Linked DNA regions of Homo sapiens: region 2 is linked to region 1. Evidence: promoter capture Hi-C in 16 types of primary human blood cells and fetal thymus (Javierre and others, 2016). All regions are on one chromosome and are shown on one strand. The core of a region is centred on a gene start or on the middle of the fragment in contact, and the rest is flanking DNA. Distances in the headings are between cores, read along the strand shown. Region 1 holds the start of LRRC66 (leucine rich repeat containing 66). Region 2 overlaps DCUN1D4 (defective in cullin neddylation 1 domain containing 4).

Region 1 (4,488 bases), core at 380-2,879:
TATCTAGGTAAACTTAATGACCTAGCTTGATAAGTTCATGTGGAGCCACTACAAGATGTGGCTTCTGCAAAGAATGATCTATGCATATCGCATACTGAAATTCACTTTCAGTTCATTCCCAGTTCCAAGTTCAATGCCTTTTCCTCTTAGCCACAGTCTTAAGATGGAGTTTCGCTCTTGTTACCCAGGCTGGAGTGCAAGAGCGCCATGTCAGCTCACCACAACCTCCGCCTCCCGGGTTCAAGCAATTCTCCTGCCTCAGCCTCCCGAGTAGCTGGGATTACAGGCATGTGCCACTACAACTCACTAATTTGTATTTTTAGTAGAGATGAGGTTTCTCCATGTTGGTCAGGCTGGTCTCGAACTCCTGACCTCAGGTGACCCGCCCACCTTGGCCTCCCAAAGTGCTGGGATTACAGGCGTGAGCCACCACACCCGGCCAGCCACAGTCTTGTGTATCCTTCCAGATTCATCTCACATCTTATGGCCTGGTCATTTTTCCTGCTTTAGCCTCCAAATTTGTCTTTATTCTTACAGAAATCTTTCAGTAAACACTGAAGGAATTGATACACATTAGTAACATTCAGCGTTGCTATTGTTTTGCTTTGTATCTGTTCTGAACTCCCAAAAAAAAAAGGAACATTATCTATCTATCTATCTATCCAATGTTTTACATTTTTAATAGTCTGCAGTCTGTCACTGGGTTATGTTGTTTGTGTGTAAATGAATGCATGGAGTGAAGTGAATGAAATTTACAATGTAACTTTAAAACTTTTGTTTCATACAAGGTCAATCCTCCCATATTTTCAAGGGCATTTAAATTCAGGTACACATGGCCATGAACAGCAAAGGTAGCCTACAGCATGGAGGAGTGATTTATTTTTACAGTGTGCTTCTTATGCAATACTAGAAATTGAATTGATTTGCCCAGGAACAAAGATATTTTTTCTACGTTCAAAGCTGAGATCATTATATATACAATGGTGCACCAAGCTAATGTAACAAAATCAGCAACAAAAAAATATAGTCACCATTCACAGGTACATTACTTTGTAGTGCTGAAGAGAAAGACATGGTTGAAAAATACTTTTTCTTAAGGGGACATGAATTAAAATTGCCCTGGTTCTTTTTAAGCTGAAGAGATTTATACATGTTAGGTTTGAGTTCAAAACAGCTAGACAAGGAATCTTATATCTTAAAGTGAAAGGTATTAATTTGTTAAAAAAATCATACTATTTATAAATTTATATGTATTAGGTAAGGAACCACTCAGAACTCCAGAAAAAGTTGCTTAGAAAACTGGAAACAATTAGGCAAAATGTAAATTTCAAAATGGAAATAGTCAAGCTGAAGTAGGAGGAAGCAGTTAGAAATACTGGGTGTGTACATTTGTGAGTCAGCAAGTGAAAGATAGGAAGAAGGCAGCACAAAAAAACAAAGTATTATAGAAAGGAAATGAAGAGTTCATTTATACATAAAAGAAAGGGTGGCAAAACTGAAGGAAAAAAGCAACAGAGGCTATTTCGGGTAAGGACAAGACCTGGAAAGTAATAATGCCTCTAAGACATACCTTCGTATCCTAAGTGGTTATCAAATGGGTGGATATCTGGATCAAGCCAGGTAGGGATTTAAGACCTGAACCTTTGAGGCTCCACCCAACCTGCCATCAAGGCTGCCCAGTGGCCAGCCCTCACCCTTTCATCTCCGGCTTTGGCCTCCTGCCATGGTGACAGTGTGCACTTTCCCCTAGGACACCAGGGAAGCACCACTGGAGAGAGGCCTTCTGCAATGCACAGAGAGGAGGGCATTCAAAACTTGGAATGTACAACTTTCTAACTTTGAGTTCTAGGAGTCCAGAGAGATTACATAAATACTGACAGCGTCCCATTCTCAAGCCATATTTAAATTCATCACGTTCGCATGACTAAGTAGAAAACAGTTAATATATAACCCTTAAAAAATTAACAGCAAACAATTTACAGAATTTTTATTGTAAACAGAAGCTCATTACTAGTTATTACAAACTGAATCAACTGAAACTCAAGTTAGCAATGTGAAACACATTTATAGGCTTATTTTTGTATACCATAATTGGTAATTTTTGCCCCCTCAATACTTTTAAGAAGACTGTTAAAATTTTCAGCATTTCAATGATCTCTTATTTGTCAGGTTTAGCACCATGACATTCTCATTCCCTTAAAAAAACACTCATTCAAATCTAGGTAGAACTTCCACCTTTCATCATCAAAATTATCACACAAAATTTATTTTGTTTTTTTCACAATGCAAAAAGAAGACAAATAAGTATATTTTAAAATATTATCAGCAGTCCGTTTTGTGTGGTTTTACATTTTTCTGTCTGCCCATTATTAAGAAATCTTGCATTGATTTCATTTGCCCCCCTTGTCATTGCAACCCGTCTCTAGAATACTGTGGTAATTGAAACTAGCATGTACCTGCGCCCCCTCCCGGGGTCCTATCTTTGTCACCCACCTCCCCCATGGCTACTGCTTGTCATATCTGTGCTCAGTGCAGGGATGAGCATACAGCAGGAAGAGGCGAAGTCAGCATTTCATTTACAGAAAAATACTATCTGGTGGAGACAATGAGTTGCTGAAGATTTACTGTGGATAAAAATAAGCCGGCCAGGCGTGGTGGCTCACACCTGTAATCCCAGCACTTTGGGAGGCCAAGGCAGGCAGATCACGAGGTCAAGAGATTGAGACCATCCTGGCCAACATGGTGAAACCCCGTCTCTACTAAAAATACAAAAATTAGCCGGGAACTGTGGCACATGCCTGTAGTCCCAGGTACTCGGGAGGCTGAGGCAGGAGAATCGCTTGAACCTGGGAGGCAGAGGTTGCAGTGAGCCGAGAGCCGAGATTGTGCCACTGCACTCCAGCCTGGCGACAGAACAAGACTCTGTCTCAAAAAAATAAATTAATTAATTAAAAATTAGAAAAGCCATAAGTAAAATGGAGAGTTTGCCCTGTTCTGCTTTCTAATAGATTTTCCAAGCTTATGTTTCAGGGAAAAAGCCAGGACTACCTGTAAAGTATCATAAAATGCTATGGCTGTTAACCTTCAGTTGTATAAAAACATCAAAATAGCCTCTCCTCTCAAAAGAACTTCATGGAGATGTATCAAAAACACAAGTATTTCCCAAAAAAGAGTAAAAATAGATTATTTCCTGAACTACATTTAATAAATAATATTTTGTAATACAGTGTTTTCTGGTTTTTATAAAAATATTTACTTAAATAAACTTTTAAAATAAATCTAAATAGAGCAGATAAGTAATGAATATGCAATTTAATTTATGGACCATCTGAATAAAAATTTCGGCATTTTTTTCTGAATTCAGACATTAAATGATACTGAATATATTCAAATGAGTTCAAATATCACTGCAATAACACTCAAGTGGTTATAAATCTCATTCTTTTCATTTAAAAACAGCGCTCAGTGTTAGGTAGTAAGTCAATCCAATTTCAGTATAAATTAATGACTTCATAATCTCTAAGGTATTTGATTTTTCTACCAGAGAGAAATGTGACAATATTGAATACAAATTGTTTTTTGTATTGGTTTTCTTATGTGCACAATTCAAAGTGACCCTGACAGAATGCTGTTACACTTGAATGCAGGGTTGGGCCCATGCCACAACTCTACTGCCTATTTTACAGCAAACTCCTTTGGGGGCCCTGTCCCTGATTCTGTGTGAGTCTTAATAATACCAGAGAGTTCTTTTCCAATCAAATATATTAAAAATCAACTGGCTTGAGGGTTATAAATAATTACAATGGGATAGTAATATTAGGAGCAGAGATAAATTATTATCCTTACCTAAAAATTATGTGTATTATTTCCTGCATTAGCACTCTTTAGTCCAGTGCTTCTGGACTTATTTTCGAGGCATGGTGTACTTACTAGGCCATGCCTGGCCCAAAGAACTTGTTTGGGTCTATGGCCTCCCCACTTTCCACTGTGTTGCCCCGAGTGCTGAGGGTATAAATATCTTGGCAACTCTGTTATGTATTGTTACTCCAGTGTGCCAAGGTCCATTGTTGGGAAACTGAGGTAACTCAGAAGTAGGTAAATTTGACCTCTCCATCGTATAATATTTTGGAATTGGCCCAACATAGCTTACAATCGGACAGTGATTGGTCCTTTCTGGGTCTGACATGAGATTTATTTTCTTTTTAACTAGAGTAAGCATATCTGTTTTGTTTGATTCTCATCTTCTTAGGTAAGTTTAAATTAACCTTTGTTCATCTTTCTAGAGTTTTAAATAATTAAAAAGTCAGTGCAGAGAGTGAAAACAACATGGCATTTGGAATCAAGTACATCCAGGTTTGAGTCATGCCTGAATTCCAATCCCAACTCTGCTACTTACTATATGATGTTGAGCAAGTTTCTTAACTTCTCTGATCTTCAGTTTCTTAATGGGTAAAACTTGGATAATACCACCTACTTGCAGGGTTGTGG
Region 2 (4,873 bases), core at 2,120-4,619, 100 kb before region 1:
AGGACCTGTCCTAGAGGGGCCACTTTTCATTACCTGAGTTATTTGTACAGAAGGGCAATAGCCATTATTTTTGTGGATGAGGAAACAAGAATAAACAGAATGGTATTTTTAGGTTTGTATTTTATGTCTTTTTTTTTTTTTTTTTTTGCCATTCTTGAGGAAATATAGAGATGACATGTTTTCACCCCAACTATCTGGTGCTATTGAATGACTAATTCAGTCCCTAAAGTTCTGTGAAAACACAAAAGTCTAATGATTTGAGTGAGTAAAAGGTAATGGTGCATTTGAACAAGTAAATGCTGTCGTGGTCAGCAAGATCCGTGATTTGAACATGTGATGACTGGAAAAAGGTTTGGGTTATTTGGAACTCTGGCTAAAACTTCTTTCGGGTGACATGTGATCGTTTAAATGGCATTAAGTGAATAAAGCACACAGACAGTGCTACTCTTGACCACTATTTTACCATTTCTTTGCAAACAGTGTTCACATTTTCATATTTTTTCCCTAACTAAACCACCAAAGAAAGAAATTTTGTATGTATATACAGTGTGTGTGTATACAAAATCATGATATAGTAGAATGCAACTACTTTCTTTTTCTACCAAACGAAAGGTTTTATTTGCTGTGAAATAAACCAGAAGTTTAAAAAACCCTGTAGTGATTAAGCATACTTAACCACTCCTTATTTGTAGATTCACTTTCAACCTTAAAAATTAATACCAGTTTGCATAAACCAATATCTGAAAAGAACAGGAAATGTTAATGGCAAGCAACAGCTATTAATACTGATGTGATGGATGCATTTGTTTTGCAGTGGTGACTGGCCTAGGCAGGTTTGGATCTGTGAAGAATTGATTCATTTTCAAAATTATTCCATAAAGTTAAAAAGTTACACTTTAAAGGCAACAGGTCATACAGTTCTTTAAATCTGATCAACTGTAGCTTTATTTAAAGCAAATATAAATCATAGATGAAGTTATTTTAAACACTATGTTAGAATATAGAGATTTTTAAAAAATGCTGATAAGCACAGTTAATTCTAAAATGAGAGGATTGTTACAGGAGGGAGATGTTACAGTTAATCCACAATCAACATTTTGATGGTAGGGAAAAAACTGCGTAAAAACTATTGCATTATGTATGATAAGAAAGTAAGTATTCCAAAGGGATAATCTTGCATATTAAGAAAACTCCAAATAATCTTTAAACTGCCTTGAAAAATAAACCTCTTTGACTGCTGAGCGGCAGAGTGCTTACCCTTGATTGTCTTGATTTTATATATTTATTTCTAAGGGGAGAAAAAGGGGTCAGACAGAGTAATATGATACATTTTCTTAAAAACTTCTCTAAGTTGCACAAAACTGAACAATCATCAAGCACTTATTTACTGGCTAATGTTGAATAAATTAGGGTGCCTTCATCTGGGTTTTCTTTAGTACCTAAGTCTACAACCCTTTCTCTTTTTCTATTGTGTTTCGAACTCCACATTGCAATACTCTGTTGTCATGGAATACAACCTTTAGATGTTTACTGCTGAAGTAGGTCAGAAATTGTATTATTTGATTTGCCTCAAACATCCACTGTAATGTTACATGCACCTTTTTTGAAGCATGAACTCTGAATTATGTTTTTATAAATCTGACTAGGCAAACCTAGATTCTGGTTTCACAATGGATTTATTTTCTCTCTCAGTCTCCATTTTAACAGTGCTTTTGAAGTTTATACAGAAAGCTTTAAAAGTTAGTTTGTGCCCTTGGTTTTTATTCTTAAAACTGCTAAAATACCTCTGTAAGCCTTATCCTTTATTCTTTCATATGTTGTATAATAAATGTATAGATTTCATTGACCAACTAAAATGTTGGGTGTCTGTAAATGAGACCAAAACGTGGGTTGCTTTTTTCATAAAATAATTTCTATTGGGGGTTACTGTTCAATGACAGCAGGTAACCTATAACTGTGAATGCTTCGTGTCGTCAGTATTTGCATTACATTCATAAAAGTGTGCAAGTCCTGTGACTCCCAGCTTAACTGAAATACTGTTATGCCACCTAACTTGAGTACAGCAAACTGGTTTTAGGTTTCAATGACATTGATGTAAAATGATATCCCATGAATAAAAAGTATTTGTGTTTGGTTTCAGAACAGATGTGTAAATTTTTTCTTCTCTCTTCTGGCTTTCATTTCAAAAACCATTTAAGGTAGTCTTTAAAGCATTTTTTATCCTTTTTTGTTTGTTTTTTTTCCAACTTCTTCTATTGAAAATTTCCAAAGCTACAATAATATAATGAACAACTGTGTACCTGTCACTTAGATTTTCCAGTTGTTAACATTTTACTGTATTTCCTGCCTTACTCTTGGGCTATACGTGTGTGTACTTCTCACATTCTGTAAATAGATTCTGAGAGTAAATTACATTATGACACATCACACCTGTTAATTTGGAATAAGGGCATTCACCTATAACCATGATAAAATGATCACACTCAAGAAGTTTAATGGTGGTACTATACTATAATAAACAGTGCAGATTTAAGTATCTCCATTTGTGCCAGTCATGTTCTTGATAGCTATTATCTTTTTAATCCAGGGATAAGCATTGTATTTAGTTGTTACGCCTCTTTAGTCTCTTTTAATCTAGAACACTTTCAGATACAGTATTTTAAATGTTTTGATTAAAGATAGTGCAGTCACTCCTCAGCCAAATAGTGATTTTAAAAAAACCCACCATGTTTTGTGTATTTCTACACATTGAGCTAAAGAATTAAGTACATAATGTGGGCCACAAGCTAGGCAGGAATGACCACTTTACTACCCTCAAGGCTGCCACGCAATTAGTCTATAAGTGTGTGTTAGCCCTGGCTACCCCTTTCTAAAATTGTCTTACACTATACTAGAATGTAAGCTTTCTGAGGGCAGGACCTCTGGCACGTAGTGGATGGCCAGAAAATGGAAGGAAGCAGGTAACAGAATTTCCTCTCTGGGCAAAGAATTGTCAGGACCTAAGAAACATGTAAAGATTAGAAAATCCAAGAATAAATCGAGGAAGACTTTTGATTTTTATACGCTTGAAAGCAAGAGAGAGGAAGTAGAAAATAAGATTCCTTAGAATCCAGGTGCACGCTGTTAAAATTGTCAATGTGGATGATTCTTTAAACCATAATTTGGGCCAAAAGCTGAGCATCACACCAAGAAAATATCTCTGCTTCTAGACATCAAGAAAGAGAGGTGGAGATAAAGGAAAAAACTTAATCCCGAATTGATAGGAGTGAGAGACAACAAACCTTAGGACAGGGAATTCTTAACTTGTGGCAGAGCAAACAGTAGAAACTCATGAGACGTGTTATCCAATAATAGAAAATAGGAACATGAGATTTATTCCACTAGACAGTACTAGGACTCTACATGTAAACTCATGGGAATTGAAATAAAGTTCTCTGCTGTAATTGGAGCAAGATAGACTGAGGAGAGAGTAAACCACGAATGCTGGCTCAAGACAAAAAACCTAGCAGAGGTGCATTGCAGACATACCCATGAAGGAAAAACTTACACAAGGTCACCCTAAAGGAAGGACATTGTTAAGCCCTTTGAAATAATGGGGTGGAGAGGAAAATGAACTGAAAAAATGAAAAACACCCACAGGAAGAAATCAAAGACGATTGTGTCAACCCCAGGGCTACAGAAGTGAGGAATAAAATTGGCTATTTCCGGACACTGACTTTCTTGATTTGTTGAACATACGTGAAAGCAGGACATGCCATGGTCGCTGGTTGCATCAAATAGAAATGACTCATTGGAATGTTACCTCCAAATCCTTACATGAAGAGTAAGCAAAAGATGAAAGCTTTTATGATTCCTTTAGAAAAGAATTGCTTTTGGGACTTTATCATAGCTAGAAAAAAAAAAAATATATCAAGCGAAGAAATAACACATCAAGCTTTCTGGCCCGGTAAGGCAGAAGGTAATTCAAAATCGGGCATGTTCACCACTTTTGGCACATTCAGCAGAAAAATGTTTAGTTTTTTCTCTGCCAGAATTTGTTCCTAGCATTTATTTCCAATTGCCTTAACGAAAATAAAATCATCCCATGTATAGAAGTACTTGCTTAGAAATCATGGTGAATTAGTACGTAGGCTATGCTGAGAATAATAATTGGAAACTGAAAAACAAAGATTGACTATAGTAATTAAATGGAAACTTTAAAAACCATCATTTAAAATGTAAATCTCTTCTCCAATAAGTGTATTCGGTCCTTTGAAAGAAACTCCTTTGCAATCACTCTCTGAAAAATATAGATTGTAAAGAATCCTGGCTGTGAGAAAGGAAGCTGAAAAGGGTTTGTTTTTCCCTCTGACACTTTCCAGCAGAGACATCTCAGAATTGCCTAAGTGTGAATATCTAAAATTACAAACTAGTGTTCTCTAGAAATCTTAGGATACATGTGTGATGATAAAGAGAGCTACAGCTGTACTCATTACCAGTGAAATAACTCATGAAAAAGTTTTGGGCCAACTTTCGATAGCATGTTGAAAGCCACTGCGTTTTCTTTGTCTCTACTTGCTTATTGTTCATTTTTGCTTCATTACCTATGGTGGCTTCTCTGTATCCCATAGTGAGAGTAGGGCCTGGACAAGGTTTGTAATCCTATCACACTTCCAAAATTATTGAATAAAATAATAGATGCCTTCTAGCAACCTGTTCCATGTGTCTGTGTTCTGTGTGTCTCAAAGTGCTCATAAATCCTTCAAGTCCTTATTTTGCCTACATCAGGGTTGATTTTCAGATTCTCAATATAATCATTGTATCAACAAACTTTAATTGTGTGTTAGGCCGAATTCCTATGTGAAATTGGTAACACAGGCATTAAAGTTTACAA

Evidence for each region. Contacts are between HindIII fragments. The CHiCAGO score rates a contact against its expected background, and 5 or more counts as called.
Region 2: a fragment that was not itself captured here is called in contact with the fragment with the promoter of LRRC66 in region 1 in 1 of 17 cell types (monocytes); the score reaches 5.7 in monocytes.

The regions. Positions count from the first base shown.
Region 1 is chr4:52,018,734-52,023,221 of GRCh38, forward strand. It overlaps LRRC66 (leucine rich repeat containing 66), which reads right to left and starts at 1,630. Exons shown (of 5, transcript NM_001024611.3): 1 at 1,571-1,630. SGCB (sarcoglycan beta) reads right to left here. Exons shown (of 6, transcript NM_000232.5): 6 at 1,973-4,488. The HindIII fragment of the contact is 6,788 bases long and covers 1-3,016 here.
Region 2 is chr4:51,914,696-51,919,568 of GRCh38, forward strand. DCUN1D4 (defective in cullin neddylation 1 domain containing 4) reads left to right here. Exons shown (of 11, transcript NM_001040402.3): 11 at 1-2,142. Among named protein-coding and RNA genes, the nearest start is that of DCUN1D4, 74 kb to the left of the region's middle. The HindIII fragment of the contact is 939 bases long and covers 2,901-3,839 here.